Regions from separate parts of the Homo sapiens genome. Here region 1 is linked to region 2. Evidence: promoter capture Hi-C in human tissues and cell types (Jung and others, 2019). All regions are on one chromosome and are shown on one strand. Each heading gives the region's core, a stretch centred on a gene start or on the middle of the fragment in contact. The rest is flanking DNA. Distances are from core to core; before and after follow the strand shown.

Region 1 (6,033 bases), core at 58-2,557, 440 kb after region 2:
GCAAAGTCCTTAATTCTGTAACTACTGGGACATTCAAAATAAATTATTGGGGCGTCTGGTTAAAATGTACACAACCATAAGGCAACAAAGTACACTCACTAATCAAAATGTAAAGTGATACAGTCTTTTAGAAAGGCAAATTGATAACTCATTGTTTATTAATATAATTAAAAATTAATACACTTTGATCAGCTATTCCGTTTCTAGGAATTTATCCTATAGAAGTACTCACATGGTGTGGAAAAATATATGTGCAACAAGGATTTTATTGTGGTGAGATATATATATATATATATATAAAATAATAATAAAATATTAGAAACAATACCAAAAGTAGAGGCTTGGTTACACAGGGTCATCATATATTTAAATACATGCCCATCAAAAGAAGGAGTTAGCTCTGTATGTACTACCATACAATACATGTACACAATATTTTGTTACATAAAAAAGCAAATGCAAACAAGCATCTATAATATGACCACATTTTGTTTAAACATGTATACATAATTGCTAACCTTCATTGAGTTACTTCTGTGTATTCTGATGGTTCTAAGTGCTCATATGTAATAATTAATTAATTAATCCAATAAGCCTTAGGGTAGGTTTTATTTTTAGCTCTATTTTCCATAGAAACTGAGGCACAAAGAGGTTATTACTTTTTCAAGGCTATACCACTAAAAAGCGATGGAACTTGGATTCCAACCCTGGTGTATCTGATTCCAAAGCTCTTGATCTTGAACTAGCACATGATACAGCGTTTGTACTTACATGTTAATTTCTGTATACATAATGGAAACATTTGTATAAATAATACTCTAGATGCCAAGAATTCTCCCTAGGTGATTCTTTCACTTTCAGGATAATTTTGTATGATTTGAAGTTTTTATGTGCATATTTGGGTATTAATTTGAGTTCTTTTTTGTAGGTATTTAAAAAAATAAAATTCAGTTTAAAAAACAAGTAACGTACAATAGTGTAGAATGTACTTCATCACTCATTTGGTCAATGAGTACTTATTAAGCCCCTACTGTTTGCCAGACTGGGGACTGAGATGAATTGAACTCAGTTCCTATTGTAGAGGAACTCATTGTTTAGAGAAGACACGAAGAAACATCCAGTCTTGAGTCTTTTCCAGCTCTATCGCACTGTGATGCTGTTTTAGAGTTTGGTTGGTCAGTGAGAAATGAGGCTGAGCCAGTTATCAACACTCACGGTGTGCCTCTTTCAACTAATGGGAACCAGGGTCTGTGTTGGGCTCTGGACTTTATATACTACCTTTCTTTCTTTATAGAAATTATTGTAGGTTCAGCAAACATTTACTATATGTTAGCCCCCGTGTTTGAGTTGGGGATCCTGGGATGAATAAGACAGGGTCCCTGGTGGTAAAATCTCATCATATGGTGAAGAAAACTGATGTGTTTACAAACAGTTAAGTTCTCCCTTGCTGAAAATAATAACTAACATTTAAGAAGCATTTACCAGACACTGTTATAAACACTTCTCAATATAATAATTTATTGAATTCTCAATCCTGTTATTATCTCTACTTGACAGATGAGGAAACAGAGACACAGACAAGTTATGCAGCTTGCTTAAGATCATACAGCTAGGAAATTAGCCGGGCACGGTGGCTCATGCCTGTAATCCCAGCGCTTTGGGAGGCTGAGGCAGGTGGATGACCTGAGGTCAGGAGTTCGAGACCAGCCTGGCCAACATGGTGAAACCCCATCTCTACTAAAAATACAAAAATTAGCCAGCCATTGTGGTGCATGCCTGTAATCCCAGCTACCTGGGAGGCTGAGGCAGGAGAATGGCTTGAACCCAGGAGGTGGAGGTTGCAGTGAGCTGAGATCGTACCACTGCACTCCAGCCAGCCTGGGCGACAGAGCAAGACTCCGTCTCAAAAAAAAAAAAAAAAAAAAAAATTCCCACAACTTGGAAATAGTTCAGGGGAGTCCCACCTGGAGAAGTGCTTAGAGGAGCATAGCCAAAGAGTCCACCCTGTGGTAGAAAAGTCATAATAAAAATAGTATTAACCACCATAACAGTACTTGTCACAAATCATACAAAGCTTTGTGGGATTTAAAGTGCTTTCACCTATTAGACATGTCTCAACATAGGGTGGCCCAAAATGTAAGGTGTCCCTCTCACTTGTCACACTAAGAAGATTGCAGAAGAGAAAATATTTGGGGTCTCAACTTGAATATATAAATTCTTAAGGTGGTATAAATAATCAAATATCTGTGTAATATTTAATTTATTATTTTAGGTACATACACACTTTCAACATTGAGAAATATTGGATTTTCTCCCATTCTTCCATTTCACAAAACAATTCTTTTCATCTCTTTCTGAGCACCTTTGATCTCAGTCACTGGGGATGATTTCTATGTCGCTCAGCCTTCTTTCTAGGTCACATAATTTTCACTCCTATCCAAATTGTGATCCAGTACTTTTTGAGCCTCTATATGATGCTTTCTCTGAAATATTTTATCTTAGAATTCCCAGTGCACTAAATCTTAGGACAGATTGTTTTTCCATTTCTCCCATTGGTTTATATTTGTGATCACAACATCCAAACATTTTATGTATTGCTTTTAAAAGTGCTCTTTCTTAAGGCTTACATCTTTATAAAGTGTGTGAGGTCAGTCCCCAGTGTAATGACTTACATCCATGTCGAAAATTGCTTGCTTTTTTTTTAACTACTTCCTTCAGATGACTTCTATAGATTGGCCTACCTCCAACAATACCTTGTTGTTTAAAAGAAAGTAATTGAGAGAGTCTAGGGAATATGAAAGATTCTGTGAGCTTTTATAAGAACTTAAATATAAGGCAACTCTCTCTTCTAAGAGTTTTTTTGGGGAAAAAACACCTTGAGTTATGTCCAGGTGTATACTGTATGTTAACTTCATTTCATTTCTTTCTTTCTTTCTTTTTTTTTTTGAAACAGGGTCTCACTCTGTCGCCCAGGCTGGGGTGCAGTGGCGTGATCACAGCTCACTGCAGCCTTGACCTCCCTGGGCTCAGGTGATCCTCTTGCCTCAGCCTCCCAAGTAGCTGGGACTACAGGTGCTTACCACCACGCCCAGCTAATTTTTGTAGAGACTGGGTTTTGCCATGTCGCCCAGGCTGGTCTTGAACTCCTGAGCTCAAGCGATTTACCCACCTCAGCCTCCCAAAGTGCTGGGATTACAGGTATGAGCCACCACTCCCGGCCAGACTTTGTTTCTTAAACATTCCAACCAGCCTGTAGAAGTCTGTATGGTGGGCATTATCCCCACTTAACACATGAATAAGGTGAGACTCAGAAGGTGAGGTGCTTTGTCCGAGGTACCCAGCAAGTGGTAGAACTGGGATGCAAATCTAAGCCTGTCTGATTCTCTTGACTCACCTCTTCCATTAAAGCACTGACAAAGTTTCTAAACCACCTTCCTAATTTAGATTGCTGGCCCTCCATAAGTGTGTGAAGCTGTGCTGACAGAATGCTAGCGCTGATTCATTTATTATTCTTTTATTGCCTTATGGTGGTATAGCTGTGTGCAGTATTTCATAAAGAAAATGACAAAGCAATTTGCAAATATAAAACCCAGATGCTTAATTTTAATTTCTGGGTTTCTGTTTCAAATCCATTGCAACACAATGCGTGTTGTTTACACTATAGCTGAAGTCCCCAGTACTTATAAGGATCGGGAAAGTTGCTTTTAGGTCCTGAAGTGATGTATTTGCTTGCGTTTCTTTTGTTCTTGGAAACCAACTCTTTCAGGAATGAAGTGGAAAGAGACAATGGTGCCTTCTTTACAGGTGCAAGGTTCCCTACAGTGGTGTGTGTGCTGGAGTTGGCTCTTCTGTGCTTCTGAGAGCTGACTGTGAGCTTCTCTTTCCAACTCTGTTCAGTGACATCATGCTGGGAGCTTGAAATCAGTCACAGTGAGAGTATTCACACTATGGAAATGGGCAGCCCTACAAATCAAGTCTCCTTCTCTCCCCTCTCTCCTGCAGCCCCTCCCCAAAATGATTTAACCTCCTTGTGCCTTGGGAATAATAAGAGTGCTTCCCTTCTAGGTTATTCTGAAGATTTAGTGAGATAAAGCATGGAAGGCACCTGGCACTACCTGTGTGTTTATGTATTTAAGCAAGTACTGCATACTTGGAGTAGAAAAAATCAAACAAGTAAACAGAAGGTTAGAGTGAGAAGGAAGTTTCCTTCTCATCCCGGACCTCCATTCCAATTCCTATCCTCGAAGGCAAACTATCTCTCTAAATCCTTCCAGAGATGTGCTCTAAGATGTATATATTCTAAATGGGCTCATGTAGCTCTAACTTAATATTTTTAAAGCCTGGTCTATTGTTCCATTTTTGGATGCACCAGGGTTTGTTTAACCAGCCCTCTATGGATGCCATTTAGGTTGTTTCCTATCTCTTTCCAGTAAAAATTATGGGCACTGAACAACTTTGTCTTTTGCAAATAAACATGAGTGTATCTATAGGCTCCATTCCTAGAAATAGAACTATTAGGTCAAAGGTTATGAGCATCTTAATTCTGGTTTGATTATCAAATTGCTTTCTAGAGGCCATGCCAATTCACTCTCCACAGTGTAGGCAAGTGCTGGAGTCTCCACAGTCTTGGGACATTGTCTAACTTTTTGATCTGTGTCATCTGATCATTTTTGGCACCTAAGACAGGTAAATGATTCTCATTATTATTATTGATGGAGAAACCCGGGTGCAGGGAGGAAAGGGAGTTGCCCCACACCACCCATATCCAGGCTTCTGCACACAAAGCAAAGAAATGATAGTTGAGGCTGATGCCATTAGCCCTGCCAGGAAGTGGGGAGTAATCCTTGAGCCCTGGGCAGTTGGAAATTCTATGAACTTGCTTTGCAGGCTCTTTATCATCCCTGTTTTTCTTGAGTGCAATTTCTCAGGAACATGAAGGATCAAGAAGGTGTGAAGCTCTGGTGCTCTGAGAAGCTTCAGTACGGCTTGTTCTCTACTATAACAGACAACTTCCTGAAATACAGATGCCATTTCTCTCTTCAGAACTTTCTGTGGCTCCACATTTCTCAAAGTTCCTGGACCAGCAGCACCTGGGAACTGGTTAGAAATGTGTATTTTTGGCTGGGCGCTGTAGCTCACGCCTGTAATCCCGGCACTTTGGGAGGCTGAGGTGGGCTGGTCTTGAGGTCAGGAGATCGAGACCATCCCGGCCAACATGGTGAAACCCTGTCTCTACTAAAAATACAAAAAAATAGCTGGGTGTGGTGGTGCGCACCTATGGTCCCAGCTACTCAGGAGGCTGAGGCACGAGAATTGCTTGAACCCAGGAGGCGGAGGTTGCAGTGAGCCGAGATTATGCCACTGCACTCCAGCCTGGCGACAGAGCAAGACTGTCAAAAAAAAAAAAAAAAGAAAAAAGAAAGAAATGCGTATTTTCAGGCCCCTCCTAAGACCTATGAAACCAGACACTCTGGGGGTGAGGCCTAGTAATGTGGGTTTTAACAAGTCCTCCAGGTGATACTGATACATACTTAAGTTTGGAACCACTGATTTACAGAATAAAGTCTGTAGCCCCACAGTCTGGGGCAACTGTGGCCCCAACCTACCTTTCTTACTGTATTTCCTTCCTCCAACAATTTTTAAACATACTTAGCTACTGGCTCCTTCTAAAACCCCCCTCCACTTCCTCATCCCTGTGCTTGGAGCAGAAACCTCTAGTTGTCTCCCAATTTTTTCTACAGCAACAGAGGCCGTCATTTAAAAACTGTATTTCCCAATCTCCCTTTTAACTGTGTTCTGGCCAATGGGGCAAGAGCAGGAGTAAAACGTGCAACTGCTGAAATGTGCTCTTAGGAGGGAAGAGTATGCCTGCTATCCCCTTTCCCTATTTGCACTGGCTGGAACACAGATATGATGGCTTTGGACCATGCAAACAGATGAGGACTGGGGCTCAGGTGTGGTGGAGCATCAGGAAGGAAGGAGTCTGGGTTCTTCATGCTGTGGGGTCACTGTGGGAGCCATAGAATACATAAG
Region 2 (6,205 bases), core at 1,536-4,035:
AACTGAACGAAATTCACATGGAATGTGGAAAACAAGCCAGAATTTGCCCTTCAATCTTCCCCAGACCTCTTCAACACAGAAAATAAGCTGTTTTTTTCTCTTTCATAATCAGTTTTCAACAGACTCCACATAATGCATAATTTAGGAACTGGAAAGGCAGCTGTCTTGCTAGGAAGGCCTCCAAGCCCAGCACACGCTCTCCTAAATGTAACAGGCCTCCTCCTATGTAGCACCTGACTCGGTCAGAGAATTCACAGTGCAAAACACAGGCCGAGGAGAGGCTGCGGCAGCCCTCCAGTCCCGTGATCTCAACAGTTCAGTGCACTTACCAAATGATACAGGAGGAGGGAGAGTTCTCATCCTTCTTTTCAAGGAACACAGTAACAAACTGTAGCTATTCTGAGAAAAGAACATTGTATTCTTAAACTTTTATTCCCTCCTGGTAGAGTATAAAGGGAAGGATGAGAATATCAGGTCCCGTCGCAGGTGACTCCAGAGGAGATTTAAAATGGAAACCTTCATGGGGCTGGGTTTCAGTTAATTCAATATATTCCCAATGTTTAACTTTACTGCACCCCTTCACCACTTAGATCTGTGAAGTGAAAATTCTGACCAATTTCCTGTGTTCTATGGGAAAGGGAAAACGGCAGCGGCAACGTGGAATATTTCAGTAGGAAAGGGTTTGTGTTGTAGGCAAAATGGTCTTCCATTTCAGTCCTACTAAGGACTACTGCTCACAGGGGAGTCCCGCACAGCACAGCCCTGCAGCAGAGGCAGAGGGAGGCCAGGCTGGGTGCGGAAGGGACGGCATCTGGATGACTACGAGGGGAGTGGGGTGTGGAGAACCAGCCTGAGCATCCTACAGGCAGTGGTCACTACGGGAGCACCGTGGCCCGACCCCCGGGAGGAAGGTTTCTCGTCTGGCCACCCTGGGGCATAGAACTTTCTCACATTTGCTCCTTCATCTTTGGATTGAGATAAAGAGTGGATGAGGCAGGCAGGTGGGGTAGGAAGAAGGGACAGTGGCTGAGGCAAGTTCCGGGATAGGGGCCAGGAAGGGCTGTTGAGATGCCATGGCTGCACCCCCTGCCAGCCTCTGCCCAGCTCTTCCTTGCCTCCTGCTCCTGGGTCTCTCCCCTTGTAACACAGCGGCCTCACTGAAGCTCAGGCTCCCGACAACCAGACAGCAGCGGGTCACAGGAGCGGAAAGGGCAGATGAAGTGGCTCCTGGGGCCAGCTCCCTACTGGCCAGAGTGGGGCCAGGACAGGGCCCTCCCACAGGAGGGAGTGGAAAGGGCCCTCCCTCCCAGAATGGGGGAGGAAGGAGATCTCTTCCAACCCCCCAGAACCCCATCACTCCCCAAGATTCTGGTTTCTTGCCTACTAGTGTGGGGCGCAGGACCCAGCCCTGCCTGGGACGTGAAGGGGGAGAAAACAGCATCGCATCCATAATATTTTGTGACATGAAGATGCCCAGCCTGTGAGTGTGGCTTCTGCCCCTCTCCCCTGAACCCTCAGTCTCAACCAAGGGTTTTCTCTCCCGCCTATGGCTTCCTTGGGCTCTCCCACTTCTCCTGGAGCAAGTTGGCTCCCTCACCGGCTCACGGGAGAGCTGTGGTCACATTCCCAGTGGGAAGGTGATGGAGCACCCATTATGCCTACTACTTTTTGGAGGTTAAGAGTGTTCCTCCTAGAGTCCGGGGGCCTGGATGTGAATCTGGCCACACCACCCGCCAGAAGCCTGCACCGAGCTTCCCTGCCCTCTGTCTGGTGAATGTTCACTGCTTCCCAAGGCTCAGCTCAGAGTGTCACTAACCCTGGGAGTCTCCCCTGACACCGAGGGCTGAGCAGCACCTTCTCTGAGTGGTACTCTGCCCCCTCCCATGTTAAACACCTTGCCTCCCAGGAAGGCTCCATGCAGGGTGTTGAATGAGAGGGAAGGAGATGAAGGAGAATGTTGGATGGGTGGCTGGACTGTTGGGCTAAGCAGAGGGCACCCAGGCACTGCAGGCTCCCCAGAGACCCCACCACCCCATCTCACCTGTGTGTGGAGAGCCGCTCTTCACCCGCCCTTTCACTCCGCCTCGTGCTGTAAGAGACAGGATTGCTGACAAATGGCTGGCCTCTGGTGAGTCCCCCTCCCTGCAGACCCCCGGTCACTGTGGGACCCCTCAGCTGATTTGTGGCTGCCTCAAACTGGGACCCAGCTCCAATGATTTTACTCAGCAAATTATAGAGTCCCCTGCCTGTCACATTTGTCTGATACTGTCAGTCATGAGGTCAGAACATCCCCCACCCCCTGCCCTGCACAGAGACAGAGACAGATAGAAATCTGCTGAGGGGCTTGCTCGGAACAGGCAACCCTAACCGAGACAATAGGTGGCTGAGACGCCCCAGCAGGCTCTGAGGAGCATGCATCGGCCGTGACAGTCTCCAGTGCTGGCCTGAACACAGGTGCTGTGCACAGGTTGTCTTGAATCCTTCCAGTAGCCCTGCAAGGAGGTGATGACTACCCCCATCTCATGCGTGAGGATCAGAGAGGTTGAATAACCAGCCGAGGTCGCTCAGCGCACAGGGGACAGGCCCTGGACTCAAACCCAGCTCCTCCCTATGCCTCTGAACACCATATGTGCTTCCCCCATCCCCTGCTGCTGCCCAGGAACCCTGTGGGCGGGCCCCGCAGGATCAGGACGTGGACTCACCTTCCTCTTTCAGGCCCTTTACCTGGTGGCTCATGGTCAGCAGCACTGCTGGGGTCCTGCACAGGCTCACGCAGCGTGCTCCTGTATGCACGCCTTCAGCCTGGGCTGCTTTCCTGCCCTCATGGTGGCTGGCCTCCCTTCCTAGACCTGACAGCAGGCGGGGCTTCTTGGTTTGAGATTGAATGTGGAGGTGGGTGAAGTTTGGGGGAGAGAGACGGGTGAAGGAAGGCGACGAGTTCCCGGCCCATCAATCCGGCCACACACTCCTCTTCTCAGGTTTCCCTGCAAAGAGGCAGCATGGCCTCATGTTTCAGGCATCAGTTATACATGAGGGGCCCTGGAGGGGCCAGGAGCTGCAGGCTTATCTCCTGGCAATGATGCCGCTGGCACTCTAGCCAGAGGAGGTGTGAGGAGCATCCCAGGCCCTCTCCCACTATCTTGAGTCCCTGATTGGGACAAAGCACCAGGGAAATTCTAGAATGTTTGTTTAAGTTATTACTTGGGCTTCTGTTTAAAATGCAGATTCTGGCATGTGGTGGTTCACACCTGTAATCTCAGCACTTAGGAAGGCAGAGGCAGGAGGATTGCTTGAGCCCAAGAGCTCAAGACCAGCCTGTGCAACGTAGTGAGACCCCATCTCCACAAAAAGAAAAATAATAATAATAAATTTTTAAAAATAAAATGCATACTCCCAGGAGTGGCACTGGGCGTTGGAATCAGTCAGTCTGTGCCAGGCCCTGGGAGCCTGCACTGTGGATCCTGCTGCAGGCGTCCTGAGCCCACACAGATGAATGTTCCCGCTCAGCCCCCGCCCCCTCCCTCAGCAGCTTTTCCTCCCTGGCTTCAGGGAGGCACAGATTTGGCTGCTTTGAAAACCATCACTAAAGTGTCAGAGGGACCCTCTGGAAGGCAGTCATAAGGTCTCAGAGTGTGGAGTTCTTAATCTGGAGTCCCTGGAACCCCCAGAGCTGTGGATGGAATTCTGTGGGTTTGTGAATAGTGATGGAGAAAATACTACACTTTCACTTTTCCTAGCCTTAACTGCGATTTAGCATTTCCCTCAATCATGAATGTAAGCAAAGATGTGATTTTTGTCTCAGCAAAAGTCACAGTTATTTTTTTTCCCAATTAAACCACTGGGGATGTCTCAAAATATCTTACATGTTATCACAACTTCAAAATTATGATAGTTAGAGACCTGCCATGAAATCTTGTTATTTAATTAGGAAGCATATATTGTCATTATATGAAAGATATTTAAAGTGATTTTGATGCCTATTTCAGGATCATTGGTCTCCTTTGTAATCCTAGTGTTTTATTTTATGGATTTAATGTCTATGTTCTGAAAAGCGGTCTGTGGCTGGGCGTGGTGGTTCACGCCTGTAATCCCAGAATTTTGGGAGGCCAAGGCAGACGGATCACCTAGGGTTGGGAGTTCCGGACCAGTCTGGCCAACATGGTGAAACCCCATCTCTACTAAAAATGCAAAAATTAGCCGGGCGTGGTGGGATGTGTCTGTAGTCCCAGCTACTCAGGAGGCTGAGGCAGAATTGCTTGACCCAGGAGGTGGAGGTTGCAGTGAGCTGAGATTGCACCACTGCACTCCCTGGGTGATAGAGTGAGACTCTGTCTCAAAAATAAAAAAAAATATAAAAAGGGGTCTACGGACCTTACCAGGATGCCAAAGGATTCTATGACACAACAGAATAAAAAGCCTTCCCCAGGGCAAGTCTCCTGTGGGTGTCAAGGACAGACCTAGCCTCTGATCATGCCCATGTACTTTCTCAGGGGTCAGGAGTAGGAGTGCCTGTCCTCATGCAAGCTTGGCGAGGGAAGGGGCAAAGGAGCTACCTCTAAAATGCACGTGCAACGGTTCATCTCAAGCTTTGAAGCTTTTCTCTTTGTCCCACACCTTGATCTCCGACCCAACTGGTTCCTGCAGGGCCGCCCCAGTCCCCGGGGCATGAGGGCAGTGGGAGGATCTCAGTTGCATTCTCTGGCATCCATACTGCAGGACTGCAGCCGCAAATCCCTCTCCCCACCAGGGCCATGCCAGTGCAGGACCCCGGTCCATGTGAGAAGCAGCACGGGCAGCTGTGCAGCCACAGGACAGCGTGGCCCAGAGGACTGGTGAGTAAGGTTTCTGCTGGGGGTGCCCCAAGCGCTCTCCCCTGATGAGTGAGGACCCCCAGCAGCCCTTTACCCTGCTCTTTTTTTTTTTTTTTTTTTTTTTTGAGACAGCGTCTGGCTCTGTCGCCCAGGCTGGAGTGCAGTGGCGCGATCTCGGCTCACTGCAAGCTCCGCCTCCTGCCTTTACCCTGCTCTTGTTGTTCTCTGTTGCCAGAGGAGAAAGGCTTTCTACAACACCTTCATCTCCGGAGAGAAATTCCCTCCAGATAGGACTATCAAATTCCCTTGTACCTGACTGTCCACACAGTCGATAACTCCACTTTTCTCCTCACAGATAAAAATGAGCACCCACTGGGGTCAGAGTCAGTTCTCGGCTCTGGGGATTCATCAGCAAATGAAACAGAGACCCTTGTCCTCAGGGGCTGATGTGTTTTTGCTGTCTGGTGGCTGGGTTTAGCCCTTGGTGTCTGAAGGAGTGATCTAGGAATTGGCAGATTTCTTCTCTCTCACAACAAACCCTGCTTTCCACAATTATTTCTAAGGAATTCAAAAATCCAAGTTTGGAAGTCAGATACTGAACACAGAGTATTTTGCTTTTTTCTTTGCACGCCACCTAGATCAATTCCAATGCTTCCTGAGATGAATACACATTCAGGCAAGAGGGAGCAGGTCTCACATCAGAGAGTGTGAGAAAGAAAACGACAGTGATGTCTTAAAACTATTATCCTCGTGGCATGTGTGTTGCACACTGCTCTGTGCTAGGTCCTGCCTGGGGCACTCTTGCCCCAACCTCTCTATTTCTCACAACAGCCCGGTGAGACAGTGTTGTCACTCCCATGTGTCAGATGAAGAAAATGAAAAAACGCGGAGCCCTTGTGTCTCCTGGGCAGGTCTGTGACAAGAGATCAATTGAGTCTGGGTCTGGAAGCTGGGATATGTGGCTTTGACTTGGGCTGACCATTAAATCCCCAAGTGCCTTCTTGTGAAGGTCACTTCTGGGCTGTGGTTTCCTTGTTGTTCAGGGTTAGATTCCGTAGTGGACACTGCCAGTGATCTGCCCAGATTCCCTCTCAGAGCAAGTGCACCCATCCTCCAGGGCTAAGGCACATAGCGGACCCCTTCAACGGAGGAGAATTGCCTTTGGCCGAGCAGGGGCTGCTGAACCCTGAGGTAATCCCATCACCATCCCCGGATTAGCCTACAGCCACAGATGGATGAACAAAGAGGTATGACAGCCCGGCCTCTGTCAAAAATGGGAACAACTTATTGATGTCATTCACATCCCAGAGCTTCCTGTGAGATGAGCCAGAAGCTGGACTCCAGTGGGGTCTCTGCTCATCCCCTTCTCCTGCCCTGTCCTGCTTCTTGCCTCT

What was found. Contacts are between HindIII fragments. The study calls those that stand out against the background at their distance.
Region 1: a contact is called between a fragment that was not itself captured here and the fragment with the promoter of TMC2 in region 2, in 2 of the 25 tissues and cell types used here (aorta and spleen).

Annotation. Positions count from the first base shown.
Region 1 is chr20:2,086,913-2,092,945 of GRCh38, reverse strand. No RefSeq gene overlaps it. Among named protein-coding and RNA genes, the nearest start is that of STK35, 12 kb to the left of the region's middle. The HindIII fragment of the contact is 4,435 bases long and covers 1-3,524 here.
Region 2 is chr20:2,533,153-2,539,357 of GRCh38, reverse strand. TMC2 (transmembrane channel like 2) reads right to left here and starts at 2,785. Exons shown (of 20, transcript NM_080751.3): 1 at 2,703-2,785; 2 at 2,042-2,089. The coding sequence starts at 2,736. LOC105372504 (a long non-coding RNA gene) reads left to right here. Exons shown (of 3, transcript XR_937204.3): 3 at 4,748-4,830. The HindIII fragment of the contact is 10,824 bases long and covers 1-6,205 here.